Regions from separate parts of the Homo sapiens genome. Here all the other regions are linked to region 1. The links are contacts of gene promoters, found by promoter capture Hi-C in human tissues and cell types (Jung and others, 2019). All regions are on one chromosome and are shown on one strand. Each heading gives the region's core, a stretch centred on a gene start or on the middle of the fragment in contact. The rest is flanking DNA. Distances are from core to core; before and after follow the strand shown. Region 1 holds the start of UXT (ubiquitously expressed prefoldin like chaperone). Region 2 overlaps LOC124905183 (a long non-coding RNA gene). Region 3 has its middle 34 kb from the start of ARAF.

Region 1 (3,974 bases), core at 876-3,375:
CTGAACACATTCAAATATCCAGTGACAGAGGAGTGGCTCAAAAATCTGAGGCCATCCAAAGAATGGAATGCTATGCAGCCATGTCAACAATTATCCTATGGTCTGGAAAGAAAGCAAATGTGATCAAATATTAACAACGAGTGAATCCAGGCCGGGCATGGTGGCTCACGCCTGTAATCCCAGCACCCTGGGAGGCCGAGTTAGGCGAACTGATTGAGCTCAGGCATTCGAGACCAGCCTGGGCAACATGGTGAAACCCCATTTCTACAAAAAATTAGCTGGGCATGGTGGCTCATGCCTGTAGTCCCAGCTATGCAGGAGGCTTAGGCGGGAGGATTGCTTGAGCCCGGTGGCAGAGGTTGCAGTGAACCGAGATCACACCACTGCATTCTAGCCTAGGCAAGAGAGCAAGACCCTGCCTCTAAAAAAATTTTAAAAATTCAAAATAAAACAACTGGCGAACTTAAGTGCAGGGTATATGAGTGTTCACTGTCAACTTTTCTGTAGGTTTGAAATGTAAAAATAAAGTTGGAAATACATTTTTAAGTAAAAAATTCTTTTTTGTGAAATATAAGTTAATAGACTTACACAGACTCATCTCCAGCCCATCAGAATTGTGTTCTCTGTTAAATAAATATGTGTCTTCTTTTCTCTCTTTTCACAGGAAAGTGGTATAGATTAACTAGATAATATTTTTCTACCTAGTATCTATTCCAATCACACTCAATGTAATTTAAACTATATGTAACATGAGATTTACAGACCAAAAAAACTAATCTCAATGTTTTCATTTTACAATTATCTCGTTCTAAGGGCAAAGAAAAGCTTAACTTGGCCAGGTGTGCTGGCTCATGCCTATAATCTCGGCATTTTGGGAGGCCGAGGTGGGCAAATCACTTAAGCCTAGGAGTTTGAGACCAGCCTGGGCAACATAGTGAGACTCTGTCTCTACAAAAACTTTTTTAAAAATTAGATGGGCGTGGTGGTGTATGCCAGTAGTCCCAGGTACTCCAGAGGCTGAAGCGGGAGGATCACTTGAGCCTGGGAGGTTGAGGCTGCAATGAGTCATGATCATACCACTGCACTCCAGCCTAGGGGACACAGACCCTGTCTAAAAAAGAAAAAAAAGAAAGAAAGAGAGAGAGAGAGAAAGAAAGAGAGAGAGAGAGAAAAGAAAGGAAGGAAGGAAGGAAGGAAGGGCTTAACTTGCTTGGGTTTTGAGCATTTGAAAAAAAAAACTTGCTTTTACATATGAAACACAAATTATCTGGGAAGACTTCCTTGGTAGGGGTGGGTGCTCTAGGCTCTACAGATGGAAATAGCATTTGGGGATTCATCCCATGGTCTGGATTCTTCTCCAGGCAAAGGCCCATTCTTGCTGGGTTATAAGTTCTTGTTTGAAAATCTAACCTGAAAAATAAATTCACTCAGTCACTCTAGTGCATAAGAATAAATTCACAAAAACCTTACCATTTAAATAAAAACATGGGAACTATGCCTAACTACAAGATGGCCAATCTTCGGCAGAGGACTTCAGCCACCCTCTCCATTTGACTATCAAACGAGGTGATTAGACAGAGAGTGTTGTCAATTTCCACTTGAGCCTCACTTATGGGTTGCGAGTGCAGAGCTGGAGTTATCAAAGATGAATTTTAGAAAACCTGTCTCTGTTTAAAACCTTTTAAATGCTTATACTCAGTCCCATTGCCAGGAGTGAAATCCAAACCTCCCGTGTGAAAAATCAATATCCAGGCCGACAGATCACACGGGATCTTCCTTATAGACCAGAACCATAGTCAATTTTTAGGTCCTTTTAAATATTAAACTCTTCACTTCCTCTACCTCCACCTGTGCGTCGCGCCTACCTTAGAACCCGCCAAATCCCATTAAATCCCACCCCCACCAGCCACACACGGTCTCCATAGGCTCCAGGCGCCGCTTTTGCAGTCCCCCATTGGCCGGTTTATTGCCAGACGGCCCCTGCTCGCACGCCCTAGTCTTCTTTGATCTCCTCGGATTCCGTGAAGCCCTGCCCTTCTCTTCTCCCCTTTGGCCCGTCTTCTTCCACTCAGGCCCGCCCCTCCCCAACTGGCTATTTGGTTGGCCAGCGCGCTTGCCACTTACGTCATTCACCCGCGCCACCCGGAAGCCGCGGTTCCTACCAACCGTTCTTATTGCTGGCGGCCTGAGGTAAAGGCCGCGCTTGGGTGTCCCTGGGTGGTCGGGTCCCCGAGTTGGGAGGGGCGGAAGGCTGAACCTCCAGCTTGAGCCGGACAAGCCGATTCCCAGCGTTGAGAGGGTAGAGATGAACTGTGTGTGAGGCCAAACTGGATCGGTCAACATGGTCTTCCCCCTCCCCACTCCCCAGGAGCCCATCATGGCGACGCCCCCTAAGCGGCGGGCGGTGGAGGCCACGGGGGAGAAAGTGCTGCGCTACGAGACCTTCATCAGTGACGTGCTGCAGCGGGACTTGCGGTGAGTGACAGTGCGGGGGGCGGGGCGTTTGGAACATTCCACGTGGTGGGTGGGGCGTTCAAAGTTAGGGCCAACCCTTTGAATTGGCGGGCGAGGCGTTCAGAGTCCGGCCCCGCGCTCCTTGGAGCGAGAAGTGGGGACGACATCCGGGGTGCAGTTTGGCTGGGACGTGGCGTTCATAGCAGGGGCGTGTCAGCGCATGCGCGGCCTCCGATGTTTAACAGATTAAGGCTTGTTTTCTGGAGCCACAGTTCTCGGGTTCGAATCCTGGCTCGGCCATTCTTCATCCTTGTGAATACGTCCTACCTCGCCTTTCTGTGCCCTATAAACTTTACTCTTCTGTGAAATGGGGAGTTTTCTGGAACCTTCCCCATGCAGTGGTTTTGAGTTTTTGATGTGTCCCATCTTTGTCAAGAATTTAGCATGGATGCCTGAAACATAGTAGAGGTTCAATGAGTATGAAGAAATATTATTGCAATCTTTGTTAATCTAAGCAGGAAATAAGGTGTTCAGAACTAGGCCTATGAGCATCCTAAAAGGGATGGAGGATTTTTCTAGGGTGAGGATGGGACATTATGATTGGAGTTCAGTATTGGGAGTATAATAATAGTAATTATAACTAACATGTATATAGAGAGTTTACCATTTGATAAGCATTATTCTAGATGCTTTGTAGTAAACGCTCATTTAATCCTAATGACTCTACAAGGTAATACTGTCATCTGTATTTTATAAATGGGGAAACTGAGTCCCAAACAGGTTATTTACTTGCCAAAGTCACACATCTATAAAGGATAGAGCCCAGATCCAAACCCAGGCAGTCTGACCCAGAGCCGAAAATTAACTTATGCACTAAAAAGCCTTTTCAGTGTATGGTGACATGAGAGTCTCAGAGGGTCATGATATGAGGTATACTAGGAGGAATGGGGCTGCCTATTGGTCACCATTGTACTTTCGTCCCATCAGAAAGGTGCTGGACCATCGAGACAAGGTATATGAGCAGCTGGCCAAATACCTTCAACTGAGAAATGTCATTGAGCGACTCCAGGTAAAGACTATGGGATTGGGTACCATTTTTTTGGTATGTGTGGGCAAGGGAGGGAAATGGGAAGAGAGACTCCAGACCCAACCCTGTCACCTGACCTAAGAGTTCACCACTGACCCCTACCTCTTTTTCCCTGGCCCCACAGGAAGCTAAGCACTCGGAGTTATATATGCAGGTGGATTTGGGCTGTAACTTCTTCGTTGACACAGTGGTGTGAGTGTCTACCCGCCCCTCTGAGCCCACAGGGTTCAGCTTACCCCTTCCCTCATGCAACTTATATTTTTTTGAGTATCTTCTATGTACCAGGCACTATGCGAGGTTTTATATCCCAGTAGGATATAAGCTAGGTGCTGGGGATGTGACAGTGAATAAAATAGGACAAAATCCCTGCCTTCCCAGAGCCTCAATTTGGGGAAGGGTGGGGAGCAAAACATAAACTATGCTAAACAGTGAT
Region 2 (3,974 bases), core at 855-3,354, 160 kb after region 1:
CCTCCATAGGCTTTTCTTTTTTCTCCATTGTTACAAAATCAGTGAGTCTCATTCAGTAAGACTTCATGACTTACTGAAGAAATATGACTTCATATTTCCCAATCATTTTACTCTCATCCAGACCATTTGTCTGGAAGGGTTATATGCTAGAAGGAAAGAAACATTTTTCCAGGAAAATATTTTTATGCAATTTAACCAGAAAGACATATCATGTCCAGAAATAGGTCAGGAAGAATCCGGAACTTTCCAATTTTTTCAAAATGGGTTTCCATTAACTTCCCATTCCTTTCCTCCTCATCATTTACCCAGTGAGCAGCCTAGGGAAAAAAAAATCAATCTCTTGCTGGGGACAGCTGCACTGAATAATCAAACTGTTTCACTAAGATGTGTGCACTAGGAGAAAGGTGAGGGTAGTAGGCTGGGCTCAGTGGCTCACGCCTGTAATTCCAGCACTTTGGGAGGCCAAGGTGGGCGGACTGCTTGAGCTCAGGAGTTCGAGACCAGCCTGGGAAACATGGCGAAACCCCATCTCTTAAAAAAAAAATTATCTGGGTGGCAGGAGCCTGTAGTCCCAGCTACTTGGGAGGCTGAGGTAGGAGGATCACCTGAGCCCGGGAGATCAAGGCTGCAGTGAGCCATGATCGTGCCACTGCACTCCATCCTGGGTGACAGAGTGAGACCCTGTCTAAAAAAAAAAAAAAAAAAGAAAAAAAGAAAGAAAGAAAGAAAGAAAGAAAGAAAGAAAGAAAGAAAGAAAGAAAAGAAAGGTGAGGGAAATAGAGTCAGGCTATCAGTCCATTGGCACAAACTGCATCTAATCCTGAAAGCTGAATGATGCAACAAGTCAACAGCAATGAGACATCTCAAAGAGGGGCACCAGTCCAATCTGTGTGAAGTAGGTGAAGGGGTCACATTCTCTGTTATGTGTCCGTCCCCAACCTGAAGCTTTCAAGAGAAATCACAAGTTAAGAATGCAATTAGTCTCTGTATCAGAAATCTAGAGCCATTCAGCCACCCAATTTTAGATGGTTTCATGAGACCACACCCTTTCCTGTTGGCATTTTTATGTGACCCAGACAATCCGGTCAGCATCTGTATTTTCGTCATTTATAGCCCCACAGAGGCTGTCTTAAATGGGCAACAATTCAGAATCTGAGTCCTGTTCTTTGAGATGAGCCTTCAGTTCCGCACAGCTCACCGCAAGGCCGAAACAGCTGCAGAAGACAGCATCAAGTTTCAGCTCAGAGGCAGGCACAGGCAATTAGGATCTGTGAATCTGGGATTTTTAAAAAGCCCCTGGCTTTCCTTCAGTAGCAGCAAAGCTGATACAAGGAAGAGCCAGACAGCTGTATACCAAGCCCAAGTGACAAACAAGACTTTTCTAAAAGTCCTTTTTATCTTGTTCATTTTAGAGGCCAAATAGACCTACTCAAACATATGCACAGCAGGCTGAAAACCATTAGCCTCTATGGGTCAGGCAGTTCATGGCAGCAAGAGCACATTAGCAAACTAAAAGCTGTTTTTGAAAACTCCCAAAGCATGTTTCTACCCGGAGATTGCCTCTCTTTTTATGTTCTCTCCCTTTTTCCAGAGGCTCCAATGGGCAAAAATCAGTGGTTATGGAGACTTGTTCTGTTTCCAATCCTCAAAGAGTTTAAATTGCAATCCACCCACAGGCAGCAAAAAGCAAGGGAGCTCTGATTCCACAAACACTGTTTTTTTTTCTTTGCAGCTTTCCCTATTAGGATGATTTGTCTAATGTTGATGAAATAAAGCAGATAACATTTTACATTAAATTTTATCATACACCCAGATGCGACAGCCACAAAATACAAAGCCTTTGAATAAACATTCCCCTCTGTTTTCCCCAAACCCCTAGCTGTAAAATCAGCATGTTCCACAGTGAGCAGGTCTATACAAAACTACCCCCAAAGTCCCAGGAAGCTGAGAGGCCAAAGAAAGAGGCTGACATATCCAATTTCTTAGAAGGAAACATTTAATAGGGACTTGCAAACAGAAGCCATGTCTGCGTCTCAGGTAGCGGTAAGAGGAGAAAGTGGATCCCTGTGCCATCAACCCCAGACTCAGGGCTTATATACCATAGGGAAGGGGTGATTCAGAAGTGATGTGTAGAATTGAAGAACGATCACATTGAGGTTATTTAGACCTAAGGGCAGGATTTGTGGTAAGTATGTGCTCTTACACAAGGAAAGATAGCTAGACTGGAAATCTGAGAGGCCTTCCTGGCACTGGAGTTAATCTGAAGTCAACATCGTGGATTAGCATCCAAGATGGAGTTGCTTTAGTTTCCACACCGCATTTACAAGGTTAACATTACAGCTGCTGGAGATGAAGGTTGCAGTGTAAGGAGGGCTTTGAGTTGCAGAGGCAGCTACTAAGCTGTAGAAAAGGCTAGAGTGGTTTTCTTGTTTGGGGGGAATGTTTTTTACTCTTTCTCCACCTCTGGTTTATCTAAAGCCTTGCTCCAGCCCTGGGAACTGATTTAACTATTTTTCTTCCACTTGGAGGAGCGAGCAATGCAAACTTTGAACGTTCTTGATTCACCCAAAACCTGCCTTCAGAAATTTTCTGACCCTTCCCCCTCCCACCTAGGAGAGAGAGCAACTCCAATTAACTGTTATTGTCTTTTCGTTGGTTTTGTTTTGTTTTGTTTTGTTTTGTTTTGTTTTGTTTTGTTGAGACAGAATCTCGCTCTGTCGCCCAGGCTGGAGTGCAGTGGCATGATCTCAGCTCACTGCAACCTCCACCTCCTCGGTTCAAGCCATTATCCTGCCTCAGCCTCCTGAGTAGCTGAGACTGCAGGTGCATGCCACCACACCCGGCTAATTTTTGTATTTTTAGTAGAGACAGGATTTCACCATGGTGGCCAGGCTGTTCTCAAACTTGTGACCTCAAGCAATCTGCCCACCTTGGCCTCCCAAAGTGCTGGGATTACAGGCGTGAGCCACTGCACCTGGCCTGTCTTTAGTGCATAGGAAGCTCACTGGGGGGAATGTCTGGGCCCTTTTTCCTCCCAATTGGAGGAGAGAACAAAAACCAAAGTCATCCTTTGAGCTGCACTTCTTCCTATCTTTAGCCAGCATGGCCAAAAGCAGCCAGGAGATCCAGCAAGCCAACTGTCTATGACTGGATTTATCATTTTCAAATGCCACGGGTAACTTCTACCTCTCATAAGAGATAGCAAGCAGGTCAGCTGCTGTTTTACACCATAGGTAACTCCATAGTGACCCAGGCATGATTTACTCATCCATCTTCCCTCTTCTTCCCTCCCAGGAAGGCTCCCACATAGTGCACCCTCCCCCAGCATCAAAAATGCAGCAACAAGCGTGTCATGTTTCTGCCCAGAAAAGCCCATTAGAGACTCAGTGTCAAAGGTTTTTATTGGGAGTTAGGCACTAGGTGCCCTCTGCCTAGCACGCACTAATATTCCAGACTCCTAGAAGAGAGGCAGATGGCCAGCATAAACCAGATTGTCAGCACAACGTAGACACAGTGAGACACCCTTATCAGTTAGGGAAAAGTGGGAACCCTCCAGAAATCCAAGTTCCCAGACACCAGCCAAGGGCAAACCTTGAGAACAAGCTTTTCTCAGCATAACAGTCTCAGGCCTGCTCTGTTAATCCCTTTCTAGGCACCCACGTTAACCAGTCTCTGAATAACAATACTGAAATGCCCTTGCAAAAATTATAACTGAAAAAAATATGACAGTGAAAGAGATCTGAGCTAACCGACCCCATCTTGCCCTTAACCTCCAAACTGCCCTTGTTCATTCCCGGGCATAGGCCAAGCTAACTATAGGAAAAATTTAGTGTATATATATATTAATTTTTTTTTTTTTTTGAGACAGGGTCTCACTCTGTCACCCAGGCTGGAGTGCAATGGTACAATCTTGGCTCACTGCAACCTCTGCCTCCCGGGTTCAAGCAATTCTCCTGCCTCAGCTTCCTGAGTGG
Region 3 (3,974 bases), core at 607-3,106, 130 kb after region 1:
CCTCAGCCCTCAGCCTCCCGAGTAGCTGGGCCCATAGGCATGCACCATCGTGCCCAGCTAAGTTTATATATATAATTTTTTTTCTAGATATGAAGTCTCCCTATGTTGCCCAGGCCGGTCTTGAATGCCTGGGCTCAAGCAATCCTCCCACCTCAGCCTCTCAGAGTGATGGGATTACAGGTATGAGCCACTGAATCTGGCCTCAGTGCTAGTCTCTTTTAGAAATAATGATACTTGGCCAGGTGTGGTGGCTCATGCCTATAATCCCAATACTTTGGGAGGCCGAGGTGGGAGGATCGCTTGAGCCCAGGAGTTTGAGACCAGCCTGAGCAATATGGCGAAGCCCCGTCTCTACCAAAAACCAACAAACAAACAAACAAAAAACAAAAAATTAGCCAGGCATGGTGGCGCTTGTATTCCCAGCTACTCAGGAGGCTGAGGTAGGAGGACCACTTGAGCTGGGGGAGGCTGAGGCTGCAGTGAGCCAAGATTGTGCCACTGTGCTCTAGCCTGTGTGACAGGCTGAGACCCTGTCTCAATAAAAAGAAAGGAAATAATGATACTCAATGCTAAAATGGAGTATAATGTAGGATTTTTAGAATAAAACAACTCACTTGGAAAGCAAAACCTCAAGGAGGGTTATGCCCTTATGCCCAGGAATCCTGCTGTGGCCAGATAGTTAAAGGGAAAAATGGAGAAACAGGTCAATGTTTCCAGATGAAATGATGAGCCTTTACTCTTAGCTGCAGCATGAGTGTTCATGTCGTGGCCTGGCCCTGGGCCACTGTGACATGGGGACCTCCAGCACAGAGAAGCCCGCTGTTTCTTTCCTGTGATTCCAGAGCCTCACAAGACAGGCATGGGACTGAGCCCCAGAACAGTGAAACCCCAGACCTGGTGGCAAAGGAGCAGCAGGAGCTGAAAGTGCCCGCTGCAGAGCTGATGGTGTGGCACCAACTCAGGGTGTGAGGGGACTGTCTTTCCGTGGGGGTCACACCGAGTGTTACCACCTCCTTCCCTATCAAACACTGGGACAGGCAATATATGTGGGGTGGGACCTTTCTCTTCCTTTCTTGTTGGTTGGGGTGGTGGTGAGTAGGGAAGAACCAAGGAGAGAAGACAAGGATGGAGTGCTTATGTGGCCACATAGGCCCAACTTTGGGCCTACTCTCCACAAGTGAGAGGAGGGGAGAGGCCCCAAGTACCAGCCTGTGACGGGGCTGTGGTCGCTCACACTGTGGTCAAGAAGGCCCAAGGCAGTTAAAATGGAGGCACTTCTGCCAGGCATGTGGGGTCAGACCCACAGGTCTCCGAGGAGCTGGAACAAGGCCTTCATCCTGGCTTCTCTCTGCAGAGAACACCCCTGGGCCTGCTTTCTGACAGAACTTGCCTCAAGGAGGGGGTGGGTGGCAACCCAGCACTTATTTGATGCCTACTGTATGCTAGGCACCATGCCAGCTGCTTTTCTGCAGCTTATCGAATTCGATGTTCACAAGAAGCTTGCAAAAGAGTATATGGCATCTGCCTCCCACGCCTCCTGCCTTGATTCAAGTCTTCATCCCCTCTCACCTGGATTATAATTTTCATTTCCTAACTGTTTTCTTTGCTTCCAGATCTTGGTTTTGTCTATTTGTCTTTATAGACAAAGTTACAGAATTTTTAACTGTATTCAAACACACAAATGGTAGCAAACTGCACTGGCAAGCATGTCACTTTTAAGGAGGTTGGGCTCTACCTCATTACCAAGAAGTACCTCAGATTCTGAGGAAAAGCAGAAACTCTCGAGGTGCCAACCTGCTTCATGGGCCTGGCCTGCTCCAGCCTCAGCCCCACAGTTACCTGGATGCTGCCTGGGCCCGGGGCAGGGGAAAAGACAGGAAGACTCTTTCCACTCAGCAGTGCTGGGGAGCTGGAGAGATTGTGGGTCACTGAGATGAGACCTCGAAACTGACAGGCAGAACTCTGGGTAGCTATCAGCCTCTCCTGGGGGTATAACAATCCATAAAGAAAGAACACCAACTTAGCCTGGCACAGGGGCTCACATCTGCAATCCCGAGGCAGGAGGACCACTTGAAGTCAGGAGTTCAAGACCAGTCTGGTGGCCAAGCATGCTGGCTCATGCCTGCAATCCCAACACTTTGGGAGGCTGAGGCAGGAGGATTGCTTGAGCCTGGGAGTTCGAGACTAGCCTGGGCAACATGGCGAGACCCCATCTACCTTTTTATTTTACAAAAAATAAAAAATTAGTCAGGCATGGTGGTGAATGCCTGTAGTCTCAGCTACTCAAGAGGCTGAGATGGGAGGATCACTTAAGCCTAGGAAGTTCAGGCTGCCGTGAACCATGGTTGTGCCACTGCACTCCAGCCTGGGCAACAGAGCAAGACTCTGTCTCAAAAAAAAGACCATCCTGGGCAGCATAGCAAGATCCCATCTCTACAAAAGATAAAAAAATTAGCTGGGCATGGTGGCGCACACCTGTAATCCTAGCTATTCAGGAGGCTGAGCTAGGAGGATTGCTTGAGTCCAGGAGATCCAGGCTGCGGTGAGCTCTGATTGTATCACTGCACTCCAGCCTGAGCAACAAATGAAGACAGAAGAAGGAAGGAAGGAAGGAAGGAAGGAAGAGGAAGGAAGGGGGGGGGAGAGAGGGAGGGAGGGAAAGAAGGAAGGAAGGATCAACTTGATTCATAAATGGATCGAATCAAATACTTTTGCAGAAATCCTAGCAAATGACTCACCCAGAATATTTAAACATTGTCATTGGGTTGCAGTGCGGGTGGAAACTTGGTGAAAACTAGCCCTCTAAAGGCAGAAAGATCATAGATGTCCATGTTAGGGCTCCACACCAGTCTGAGCTCCCCCTTAACCCACCTTCGCTCCCTGAGGTCCCCCCTTGCATACACACTGCCAGTGGCCAACCTTCCCAAACACCAGTCTGACCAAACATTTCCTCCGCTCCTCCTGTTGTCCTCTGTGATCCAGCTACTGCCCCCCACCCACCTCCCCTGCTCCCAGGCAGCCTTCTTTGTCTACTTGGCAAATCCCTTCTCACCTCCCACAGCTTAATTCTTTTTTCTCTTTTTCTTTCTTTTTTTTTTTTTTTTTTTTTTTTTTTTGAGACAGAGTATCAGTCTGTCACCCAGGCTGGAGTGCAGTGGCAAGATCTCAGCTCACTGCAACCTCCGCCTCCTTGGTTCAAGCAATTCTCCTGCCTCAGTCTCCCTAGTAGCTGGGATTACAGGTGCCCACCACCACACCCGGCTAATTTTGTATTTTTAGTGGACACAGGGTTTCACCATGTTGACCAGGCTGGTCTCGAACTCCTGAACTCAAGTGATCTGCCCGCCTCAGCCTCCCAAAGTGCTGGGATTACAGGCGTGAACCACAGCACCCAGCCCCACAGCCTAATTCTAAGGCGACTTCTTGGCAGCAGCGTTCCGGGCCCCCTTCTGCCCCTCAGGTGGAGTTGAGCAACTCGCCCCAGTGCTCCCAGCTTTTCTGCATGTGCTGTTGGCAGGCCTCCCAAGGTCCCTGACTGCACTCGGCTGTAATGCCAGCTTCTTTCTTTCCTGCCCTGAACGCCCTCTCACTCTCCTTTCATCCCAAATACCAGGACCAACATCCAGTCCACCCTATGCCTGGTTTTGCATCCTCAGATTCAACCAACCAAAGATAGAAAATATTCAGAAAAAAAATAAAATAAAAATAATACAAATAATACAGTATAGCAACTATTTACATAGTATGAAGTATTATAAGTTATCTAGAGATGGTTTAAAGTGTACAAGAGGATATGTGTGCATTACATGCAACCACTACACCATTTAATATCTGGGGTGTGAGTATCCGTGGGTTTTGGTATCCGTGGGGGTCCTGGAACCAATTTCTCCTGGATACTGAGGGATGACTGTACTTGGCGAATGTGTGGATAGAAGAATAAATGGAGGCTGGGCTGGTGGCTCACGTCTGTAATC

The links. The method cuts DNA at HindIII sites, captures the fragments that hold promoters and counts their contacts. A contact is called where the count stands out against the background at its distance.
Region 2: a fragment that was not itself captured here is called in contact with the fragment with the promoter of UXT in region 1 in 1 of the 25 tissues and cell types used here (thymus).
Region 3: a contact is called between a fragment that was not itself captured here and the fragment with the promoter of UXT in region 1, in 1 of the 25 tissues and cell types used here (liver).

The regions. Positions count from the first base shown.
Region 1 is chrX:47,657,331-47,661,304 of GRCh38, reverse strand. It overlaps UXT (ubiquitously expressed prefoldin like chaperone), which reads left to right and starts at 2,125. Exons shown (of 7, transcript NM_004182.4): 1 at 2,125-2,190; 2 at 2,369-2,475; 3 at 3,442-3,523; 4 at 3,666-3,733. The coding sequence starts at 2,378. UXT-AS1 (UXT antisense RNA 1) reads right to left here and starts at 2,472. Exons shown (of 2, transcript NR_028119.1): 1 at 2,125-2,472; 2 at 1,194-1,410. RefSeq lists silencers at 1,856-2,195, 2,474-2,553 and enhancers at 1,776-2,277, 2,034-2,293, 2,278-2,781. The HindIII fragment of the contact is 10,601 bases long and covers 1-3,974 here.
Region 2 is chrX:47,498,911-47,502,884 of GRCh38, reverse strand. The region is part of intron 1 of LOC124905183 (a long non-coding RNA gene); the gene reads left to right. Among named protein-coding and RNA genes, the nearest start is that of ZNF41, 18 kb to the right of the region's middle. The HindIII fragment of the contact is 4,884 bases long and covers 1-3,974 here.
Region 3 is chrX:47,525,053-47,529,026 of GRCh38, reverse strand. No RefSeq gene overlaps it. Among named protein-coding and RNA genes, the nearest start is that of ARAF, 34 kb to the left of the region's middle. The HindIII fragment of the contact is 7,227 bases long and covers 1-3,974 here.